3 separate regions of the Homo sapiens genome follow, and regions 1 and 3 are each linked to region 2. Evidence: promoter capture Hi-C in 16 types of primary human blood cells and fetal thymus (Javierre and others, 2016). All regions are on one chromosome and are shown on one strand. The core of a region is centred on a gene start or on the middle of the fragment in contact, and the rest is flanking DNA. Distances in the headings are between cores, read along the strand shown. Region 1 has its middle 38 kb from the start of PIM1. Region 2 holds the start of SRSF3 (serine and arginine rich splicing factor 3). Region 3 overlaps PIM1 (Pim-1 proto-oncogene, serine/threonine kinase).

Region 1 (3,229 bases), core at 460-2,959, 610 kb after region 2:
TCTTACTGTATTGCCCAGGCTGGTCTTGAACACCTGGGCTCAAGCCATCCTCCCGCCTCAGCTTCCCAAAGTGCTAGGATTACAGGCGTGAGCCACTGCACCCAGCCTTCTTCCCCTCCTTTCTAAGGGCTAAATCATGCTATCTTCCAGGACTCGGCTTAAAGGTTTTCTCCTCCAGGAAGACTTCCCTGACTCTCCACCTCCAAGGCCCCCTCCTGCGGCCCCCAGTGCTTCCTCTAGCACCTATCGTCCTGGGTCCAGATAGCCTAAGTGGCTTGGCCCCTCGCTAGGCTGGGAGCCCCTTGGAATGTGGGCTGTGTCTTGCTTCCCCAGGTATTCCTCAATTCCTAATTCACGGTCTGCAACACAGTAATAAACTGTATGAAGAAAAGTAGGACGGAAGGCTGGGGGATCTTCACGGACTGAAAGTGTCAGGGGTGGGTGACAGCCCTTAAGAGTGTTGCTCTTCCCGGGGACACCTGCACTGTTAGAAAGACTTGTTTTCCACTTGGTGAGATGGAGCTGGGAGATGAGGTGGTGATTCTAGTGGCAGCAGTTGGTGTAAGGGAACAGGACTGGGAAAGGAGGAAAGGAATAAGGGGCTGAAATCGTATCCTTTGTCGGTATTTTCCTACCTGTGTCTAGATTCTTCACCAGAGACTGCAGAATTGAATGAGAGAAGAAAGGAGTAGGAACAGGAGGCTGAAAGAACAGTAATAATTTGCCTCTCATAGGCCGGGCGTGGCGACTCATGCCTGTAATCTCAACACTTTGGGCAGATCACCTGAGGTCAGGAGTTCAAGACCAGCCTGGCCAACTTGGTGAAACCCCATCTCTACTAAAAATACAAAAATTAGCCCAGAGTGGTGGTGGGCACCTGTAGTCCCAGCTACTCAGGTGGATGAGGTAGGAGAATCGCTTGAACTCAGGAGGCGGAGGTTGCACTAAGCCACAATGGTGCCACTGCACTTCAGCCTGGGCGACAGAGACTCTGTCTCCAAAACAAAAACAAAACTGAGAGTCTATGTCCATTCATTCCACAAATCTTTATCAAGCACCTGCTACATGCTGGGCATTGAACTAGGTGCTGGGAAAACATCAGTGAAGTAAATATGGTGCCCACATTTTTGGAGGGTGGTGGGAGAGGCAACTGTATAGAGTAAGTCAGGTGATAGTACATGTTATGAAGAAATGTAGCACAGTAAGTGGGAAAGAGACACATGGGATGGTAGGGAGGGGCTGTTTCACACCCATTGGTAGGGAAGGCCTCTCTGATGCCTTCTGAGCAAGAAAGGAAGCTGGTGAATAGCTGGAGTAAGAATATTCTAGGCGGAAGGCACAGTGAGTGCAAAGGCCCCGAGGCTGGAGTGTGCTGTCTGTGTTAGGGTGAACGAAAGGAAGACAGCATGGCTGCAGCAGAGGGAGGCGGAGAGAACAAAATGGTTAGAAAGCAGATCAGAGGGTGACAAGGGACTGGGTTATTTAGCAGCTGGCATGCCGTGGTAAAGACTTGGGATTTCTACCCTGAGTGTGGTGGGGAGCCCTGGCAGGTGAGGACCGGAGTAGAGGAGGGACTTGATCTGACTCAGGTTTCAACAGGAGCCCTCTGGTGGCTGGGCGGAGAACTGACTGTAAAGGGAACACAGTGGCATGGGGAGGCCAGTCAGGAACTGCTACTGCAATAGCCTGGGCAAGAGATGGTGATGGCCTGGGCCAGGGAGGTGGCAGGGGAGGTTATATGAAGTGGTTGGATATGGATCTATATTGAAGGGTGGGCTGATGGGGAGTGGTGAGGAGTTAGATTCAGGCTGAGAGAAAGAGAGGACCTAAGGATGCCTGCTGGGTCTTTAACTTGAGCAATGGAAGGGTAGAGGTGGCAAAGACTGGGGGTTAGGGCAAGGTATACGGGAGAAAATCAGGAGTGTGGATTGGGATACACTCCCCAATTTTTATTTATTTATTTATTTATTTATTTATTTATTTGAGATGGAGTTTTGCTCTTGTTGCCCAGGCTGCAGTATAGTGGCGCGATCTCAGCTCACTGCAACCTCCACCTCCCAGGTTCAAGCAATTCTCCTGCCTCAGCCTCCTGAGTAACTGGGATTACAGGCACCTGCTACCATGCCCGGTTAATTTTTGTATTTTTAGTAGAGAGGAGGTTTCACCATGTTGGCCAGACTGGTCTTGAACTCCTGACCTCAGGTGATCCACCCGCCTCAGCCTCCCAAAGTGCTGTCATTACAGGCGTGAGCTACCATGCCCGGCTACATTCCCACATTTTAAGAAAATTAAAAAAAAAAATTTTTTTACATCAGTTGGATGCGGTGGCACACCTGTATTCCCAGCTACTCAGGAGGCTGAGGTGGGAGGATCGCTTGAGCCTGGAAGTTCAAGGCTCCAGTGAGCTATGATTGCACGACTGCATTCCAGCCTGGGTGACAGAGTGCAACCCTGTCTCTAAAAATCAAATAAAAGTAGAGACATCCTGAGTGAGACCCTGAGAGAATCTGAGTCAGAGAACCAGGTGAGCTGTGTCTGGACTCCTGACCGCAGAAACTAAGACAGAATAAATGTACTGTCTTAAGCTGCTAATTTTGGGGTAATTTGTTATGCAGTAATAGATAACTAGTACATGTCACATCTCTACAAAAATGTCTCTACAACAGTAACCACCCCAAAACATATCCTGACTGGGTATGGTGGCTCATGCCTATAATCTCAGCACTCTGGGAAGCCAAGGTGGGAGGATAGCCTGAGGCCAGGAGTTCAAGACCAGCCTGGGCAACATAGGGAGACCCCATATTGTATTTAAAAAAAAAAAAAAGAGTTGTGTAGGGGAGGATCTGCTTCCAAGCTCCCTCATGGGGCTGTTGGTAGGATTCCGTTCCTCACGGGCTCTTGGTTAGTGACCTCTGCTCCTGGCAGTGTGAGCCTTTCCATAAAGATACTTTCAACATGATAGCCAGCTTCCCTCAGAGAGCGGGCAGCACTGACGTCATCGTCTTCTGTAACCTAACCTTAGAAAGGACAACCCATCGCTTTTGCTATGTTCTCTTTGCTAGAAGAGGATCACTGGGTCCTGCCCACATCTAAGAAGAGGTGATGAATGTGAATATCAGTTCGCAGAGATCTCTGGGAACCATGTTAGAGCTGGCTACCACATCAAGGAAGCAACTGCATAAACAAAGCCAGGGTTTAGGGGAGAAGTCCAGGCTGAAGATGTATATGG
Region 2 (3,029 bases), core at 504-3,003:
AGCCTTTGATTTGATAGAAGGAAAGAAAATGAAAAAGAGGAGAAAAGCTTACATAGAGGAGGGGAACAAATCAAGGCAAATATAAGTGAGCCAGAAAAAAAAATCTAGACGAGAGAGAAATAAGAAAAGGTTTGCTAGGATCCCCTTCTCCCCTTTTACAGGTGAGGAAACTAGGCTGAGATGTAATAAATCTGTATTTTTTTCCTCCACTACAGATAAACCTTTTAGAACCACAATAAGAGGTAAGGCTTCAAAAGAAAAATACCTGGGAAAGTTAAAACATATTAATTGGCTGGCCGGGTGCTGTGGCTCACGCCTGTAATACCAGCACTTTGGGAGGCCGAGGCGGGAGAATCGCCTGAGGTGGCGAGTTCGAGACCAGCCTGACCAGCATGGTGAAACCCCGTCTCTATTAAAAATACAAAAATTAGCCGGGTGTGGTGGCAGGTGCCTGTAATCCCAGCTACTCGGGAAGCTGAGGTAGGCGAATCGCTTGAACCCGGGAGGCGGAGTTTGCAGTGAGCCGAGGTCGCGCCATTGCACTCCAGCCTGGGCAACAGAACGAGACTCCATCTCAAGAAAAAAAAAAAAAGAAAAAAGAAAAAAAAAAACATAATAATTGGCATATCTTTCAGCTAAGAGGGAATAAATAAAAAGACAGGTTCTTTTTCTCTCTTTTTTTTTTTGTGCAGTGGTAGGATCTCAGCTCACGGCAACCTCCGCCTCCTGGGTTCAAGCGATTCTCCTGCTCTCAGCCTCCCAAGTAGCTGGGATTACAGGCGCCTGCCACCATGCCCGGCCATTTGTATTTTTAATAGAGACGGGATTTCACCATGTTGGCCAGGCTGGTCTTGAACTCCTGACCTCAAGTGATCCGCCTGCCTCGGCCTCCCAAAGTGCTGGGATTACAGGCATGAGCCACCGCGCCCGGCCCTTGGTGATTTTTCTAACCCAATCACAGTCTCTCTCCCCTTAATTACTCTTGCGGCTCTGTCTTCGTAAGGGAAGTGGCCCGGACAAAATACATGCCAGGCAGTGCAACGGCTGCTAGGAGAAAGGCTCGAGATACCCCTCCTGGCATTTGCTTGGGGGCCAGAATTTACATTCAATCTTCTTCAGAAACTTCCCTTTCCGGGTGTTTGCTAAAGGTGATAGTTTCCAGGTCACCTGACCGGTCTCCTTTGCTGTCGGCGCCAAGTCCTGCAAGTTTGCTTGAGAGACGAGAAACCAGCAAGAGTTGGGCAAACTTTCCAAACCAGGCTTTTCCTTCAGTGTGGAATCTAGGCGGCCACAGTCTGGTGCCAGCTGGGTCACAAACAGCTCCGTGACCTGTTTGTAAACGCGATGCTCTTAGTTCCAGACTAACCGCTCACAAGGGTGAAGCACTTAATTAATTCATCTCTTAATCTTGTTAGGGGCCAACGGCTCCTATTAGTGTTTGAGCGTGACGGCGACGGTGCTGTTTATGAAGCCCTAGCCTATTTGGAGGTGAGGAAGAGGAGTCTGTGGGTAACCTGGAGGTCGACAGACCGGGAGGAACGCTCGAGGGAGCACCAGGCCTGTTACAACGAGCGCGCGCCGACGCACGTCTCCACCCACCCGGCGCAACCGCCAGAGCGCGCTCCCAGCAACCGCGGCTCTCGCTGCGTTTGTAGCCATACGTCACGGCCTCTTCTGCTTCTCATTGGGGGAGCCCGTCCAATCATGTGATTCCAGTATGGCGTATAAATAAAGGCGAGGAGAAGGCGGTGGTCCGCCATTTCGTGGACGCCGGGTGAGTGAGAGAGTTGGTTGGTGTTGGGCCGGAGGAAAGCGGGAAGACTCATCGGAGCGTGTGGATTTGAGCCGCCGCATTTTTTAACCCTAGATCTCGGTAAGAGACCAGCGAAAGAGGGAATGAGGTGGAAATGGAATTTAACAGTACCAAGGAGCCAGGCCCAATGGCGGCGCCAGATTGAGACAAAGAGGCGCCGCCGCCATTTTGTGACGTTCAGCACGGGGCGGTGGCGGGGGCTCCCGGCCCATCGGAGGGTTTCCTAGTCTTGGAGTGGAAGTCTTTATATTCCTCATTGGGGCATGAGCCAGGATGGGGGTTACCTGGGAGTTGGGAACCACAAAGGGGAGCCGATAGCCGAGTTGTATTCCAGGTCACGGCCTTTTTATTTTTATGGCGCCTTTTTTTTTTTTGGCCCCTCATTTAATTGGGAAGCTTCTCAGAATGTTTTTGTAAAGTCACTAACCAAGACCGGACCTTTCAGTTCATATTAAATGGCCCCCGTAGTCACCTTACTTTCATGTAGTTTCAGATTTTGCAGCCTGAATCTAATCACCTTTTTCTAAGACCGAAAGATCTTCCTTGAACTTAAGATTCGTTCTTTCATCGCTTCCCATTAAAATGGAGGCTTAAGACAGGTGCCAGCAGTGTTTTTAAAAATTTTCACCAGTGGTTTGGTCTTAGAACTTACTCCTGGGCACAGGGTGTGGTCACGGCAAATAGGATGTGTCTGGACTGGATATTTTAATTAGACAAGCCCAGAGTAAGAAGAACGTGGTGTTTATGGAAAGCACTTCAGCTGAATTATTGAGTAGATGGTTTTTATGTAATTGAAACTGGTCTACAAGTTTATCAGATTCATCGTCGAAGTGACTCAGTAATAAAGCTTTATCAAATACAAGTCCGCCAAGGAAGAACAAAAAAATAAGTCCCCAAAGTGCAGTAAATTTTTTAGTAGCAAATATCTCTTTGTAATTTTTTATTAAAGTGAAATTATCTTTAAGTGGTATTTAGTATATTCAGTGTTGTGTAATCATCACTTACACGTAGTTCCAAAACATTTCCGTCACCTCCCCCCGCAGGAGACTACTACCCATTGAGCACTTACTCCCAGATTCCCTGTCCCCCTTCCTCTAGTCCCTAGCAACCACTAATCTTCCTGTCTCTCTGAACTTAGCTATTTTAGATATTTAGTATTTATGGAATCGTGTACTTTTATGTCTGGCTTCTTTAACTTAGCGTAATGTTTTCAAGA
Region 3 (3,364 bases), core at 325-2,824, 580 kb after region 2:
CTTCCATAGCTGCTGCCCTAGTTTTCTTTCCTCCTTTCCTCCTCTGACTTGGGGACCTTTTGGGGGAGGGCTGCGACGCTTGCTCTGTTTGTGGGGTGACGGGACTCAGGCGGGACAGTGCTGCAGCTCCCTGGCTTCTGTGGGGCCCCTCACCTACTTACCCAGGTGGGTCCCGGCTCTGTGGGTGATGGGGAGGGGCATTGCTGACTGTGTATATAGGATAATTATGAAAAGCAGTTCTGGATGGTGTGCCTTCCAGATCCTCTCTGGGGCTGTGTTTTGAGCAGCAGGTAGCCTGCTGGTTTTATCTGAGTGAAATACTGTACAGGGGAATAAAAGAGATCTTATTTTTTTTTTTATACTTGGCGTTTTTTGAATAAAAACCTTTTGTCTTAACTCGTGGCTTCTAATCGTCTGTGCGGAGGCATTGCTAACCTGCATTTATTGAGCATTTGGTAAGTGCCAAAGAATTGTAGGAGAAAGGAATTCTCAGCCTAAATCTGGCTTCCTTCAACATTGGGATTTCTAGGATAGTCATCTTCCTGAAACGAATGTATGGTCAAGGGGTAGGACCAGTATTGTCAAAATTTGGGCAATATCTGGCATGGGAGGCCTAATAAAATAACCTTTTCCAGATTACAATTTTAAAGCTATGCAAATAGGATAGATGTGACAATTTTCAAGTGTTCAATAGCCATTTATGGCTAGTGGCCACCTCATATAAAACATCATTGCAGAAAGTTCTATTGGATGGGGCTGATCTAGAGATAACAAATACATACCTATTACCAAACTAACCCTTGAAGCTTTTATCAGTTGTCTGCCACTGATAGTAAAACATTTTGAGCATGTCCCCTTGGTACACGTGAAGTTTATTGAAAAACTATTGCCTCTATTACTCTCGGTTCCTGATTCAAGTTTCCTTCACCTTTAGTGTGAGGTTTAGTTTCTTTTCGAGACTGAGTCTCTGTCAACCAGGCTGGACCAGCTGGCGTGCCACTGCCAGTGGCACGATCTCGGCTCACTGCAACTTTCACTTCCCGGGTTCAAGCAGTTCTACCTCAGCCTCCTGAGTAGCTGGGATTACAGGCGCCCGCTGCCACGCCCAGCTAATTTTTGTATTTTAGTAGAGACAGGGTTTTACCATGTTGGCCAGGCTGGTCTCGAGCTCCTTGACCTTATGATCCGCCTGCTTCAGCCACCCAAAGTGCTAGGATTACAGGTGTGAGCCATCGTGCTCCGCAGCCTTTTTTTTTTTTTTTTTGAGATGGAGTGTCGCTCTGTTGCCCAGGCTGGGGTGCAGTGGTGCAATCTAGGCTCATCGCAAGCTCCGCCTCCCGGGTTTTAAGTGATTATCCTGTCTCAGCCTCCCGAGAAGTTGGGATTACAGGCATGTGCCACCAGGCCAGCTAATTTTGTATTAGTAGATACGGGGTTTCGCCATGTTGGCCAGGCTGGTTTGGAACTCCTGACTTCAAGTGATCTGCCTGCCTTGGCCTCCCAAAGTGCTGGGATTACAGGCGTGGGCCACCGCGCCTGGCCTAGTCTTTAACAATAGTATAATTTATTATGCAGCATAGAAAAAATAATAGAACAGTGTGGTGACACTAAAGTCGTGACCAGATAAGACCCAGTCTACAAAAAATAAGTGAAAATTAGCTGAGCGTGGTGGCATACACCTGTAGTCCTACCTATGCAGGAGGCTGAGGCAGGAGGATCGCTTGAACCCAGGAGCTCCAAGGTTGCAGTGAGTTATGATCACGCTATTGCACTCCAGCCTGGGCAACAGGTAACCCCACTTAAAACACACACACACACACACACACACACACACACAATAGTGGATGGGTAGAAATGTGAGTTTGACTTAAGGTTTCCCCCTCTGATGTGTTTGACAAAGGGCTAATATTGGGAGTAGGTGAAATGTTAGCTCTGCCATTTTCTTACTGCTTATTCTTGAATAATTAGTATTTTTAGTCCATGGTTTCTTTGCAGGGATCTGTTTAATAGGCCCTTTGTCCATTTTGTGTGAGTTTAGTTAAACTGGATGGCAAGACCCATGAATCCACTTTGTACGTGTGGCCTGAATACATCCTGATATTTTGAAAGCACACTGGAGTGCCATTGTCAATTCATATATTAAGTATTGGTAAATGTTGGTTTCTTGTTTCTTTATAAATATCCACAGTTATAATACTCCCTCCCTGGGGGTCATCATGCTCCCAACCCTCAATGCATCCACACACCCTTTGGACACTGGCCCATATGCACCCTCGAGGTTGCTGGAGGGTGCAGACTATAATACCCCTCACTCCTCATTGGGTTCTGGTGTATGTCTACCCTTAAGCTTAGACTAGATCCCATACCTCAGCTCAGCCCCCATGTGGCTATAAAGAGGAAGGAAGGATGTCTTGGTTCTGGGGGGCTGATTTTCTGAGGTTCCCCTTTTCTCTAATCTCTCCCATCCCCCACACAACATACACACACTACCAACATCTTGGAGCCTGAGGGTTGCATGCTTCGTCCTTTCCAGTAAAGCTGACACTTGGATAATTAAAAGTTGCCGCAAACTATTAACGAAATCAGGCAAAGCCCCACCCTTCTCTTTCTCGAAGTGAGTTTCTGGCAGTTTCCCCATCTAATGAGACTGCTGCGGGGGAATAGAAGAAAGTATCTCTGAATAAAGACAGATCGTGCTCCTGTTGGATGCAAGAGATTAAGAGTTTTAGGGGGAGGGTGAAAGGTCATATTTAATCTCTTCTCAGGGGCAGTTTGACATCTAGCGTGGAAAGGGAATCAGATAACCAATAAGTCTGCGGGGGATCAATGTCATGGCCAGAGGAATATAGAGAGCAATGGTTAAAAGCATTGACTTGGGAATCAGCCTTGAGCTTACTTATCTAGAAACCTTGGGCAAGTTATTACACCCTCTAAAACTAATCTCTAAACAGAGATACTCCTGGATTGGATTATTAGGAGACTGGGTTAAATAACAGATATACTTACATACAGAAAAACTACTATCTCCCGCTTACGGATGCATACACATGTAGCAAAAGTACAAAGAAGTACAGGGTGGGGTAGGGTGTGGTAGTTCACACCCATAATCCCAGCACTTTGGGAAGACAAGGAGGGATGATCACTTGAGCCCAGGAGTTTGAGACTAGCCTGGCCAACATGACAAAACCCCATCTCTACAAAAAAATAGAAGCATTAGCCGGACGTGGTGGTGCGTGCCGGTAGTCCCAGCTACTTGGGAGGCTGAGGTGGGAGGATCAATTGAGTCCGGGAGATGGAGGCTGCAGTGAACCAAGATGGCACCACAACATTCTAGCTTGGGTGAAAGAGCGAGACCCTGTCTCAA

The links. Contacts are between HindIII fragments. The CHiCAGO score rates a contact against its expected background, and 5 or more counts as called.
Region 1: a fragment that was not itself captured here is called in contact with the fragment with the promoter of SRSF3 in region 2 in 1 of 17 cell types (total B cells); the score reaches 6.4 in total B cells.
Region 3: a fragment that was not itself captured here is called in contact with the fragment with the promoter of SRSF3 in region 2 in 1 of 17 cell types (naive B cells); the score reaches 8.0 in naive B cells.

The regions. Positions count from the first base shown.
Region 1 is chr6:37,206,593-37,209,821 of GRCh38, forward strand. No RefSeq gene overlaps it. Among named protein-coding and RNA genes, the nearest start is that of PIM1, 38 kb to the left of the region's middle. The HindIII fragment of the contact is 4,608 bases long and covers 1-3,229 here.
Region 2 is chr6:36,592,609-36,595,637 of GRCh38, forward strand. SRSF3 (serine and arginine rich splicing factor 3) reads left to right here and starts at 1,754. Exons shown (of 6, transcript NM_003017.5): 1 at 1,754-1,873. RefSeq lists enhancers at 1,262-1,421, 1,530-2,211, 1,812-2,041. The HindIII fragment of the contact is 2,162 bases long and covers 46-2,207 here.
Region 3 is chr6:37,175,033-37,178,396 of GRCh38, forward strand. PIM1 (Pim-1 proto-oncogene, serine/threonine kinase) reads left to right here. Exons shown (of 6, transcript NM_002648.4): 6 at 1-396. Among named protein-coding and RNA genes, the nearest start is that of PIM1, 6.6 kb to the left of the region's middle. The HindIII fragment of the contact is 1,541 bases long and covers 805-2,345 here.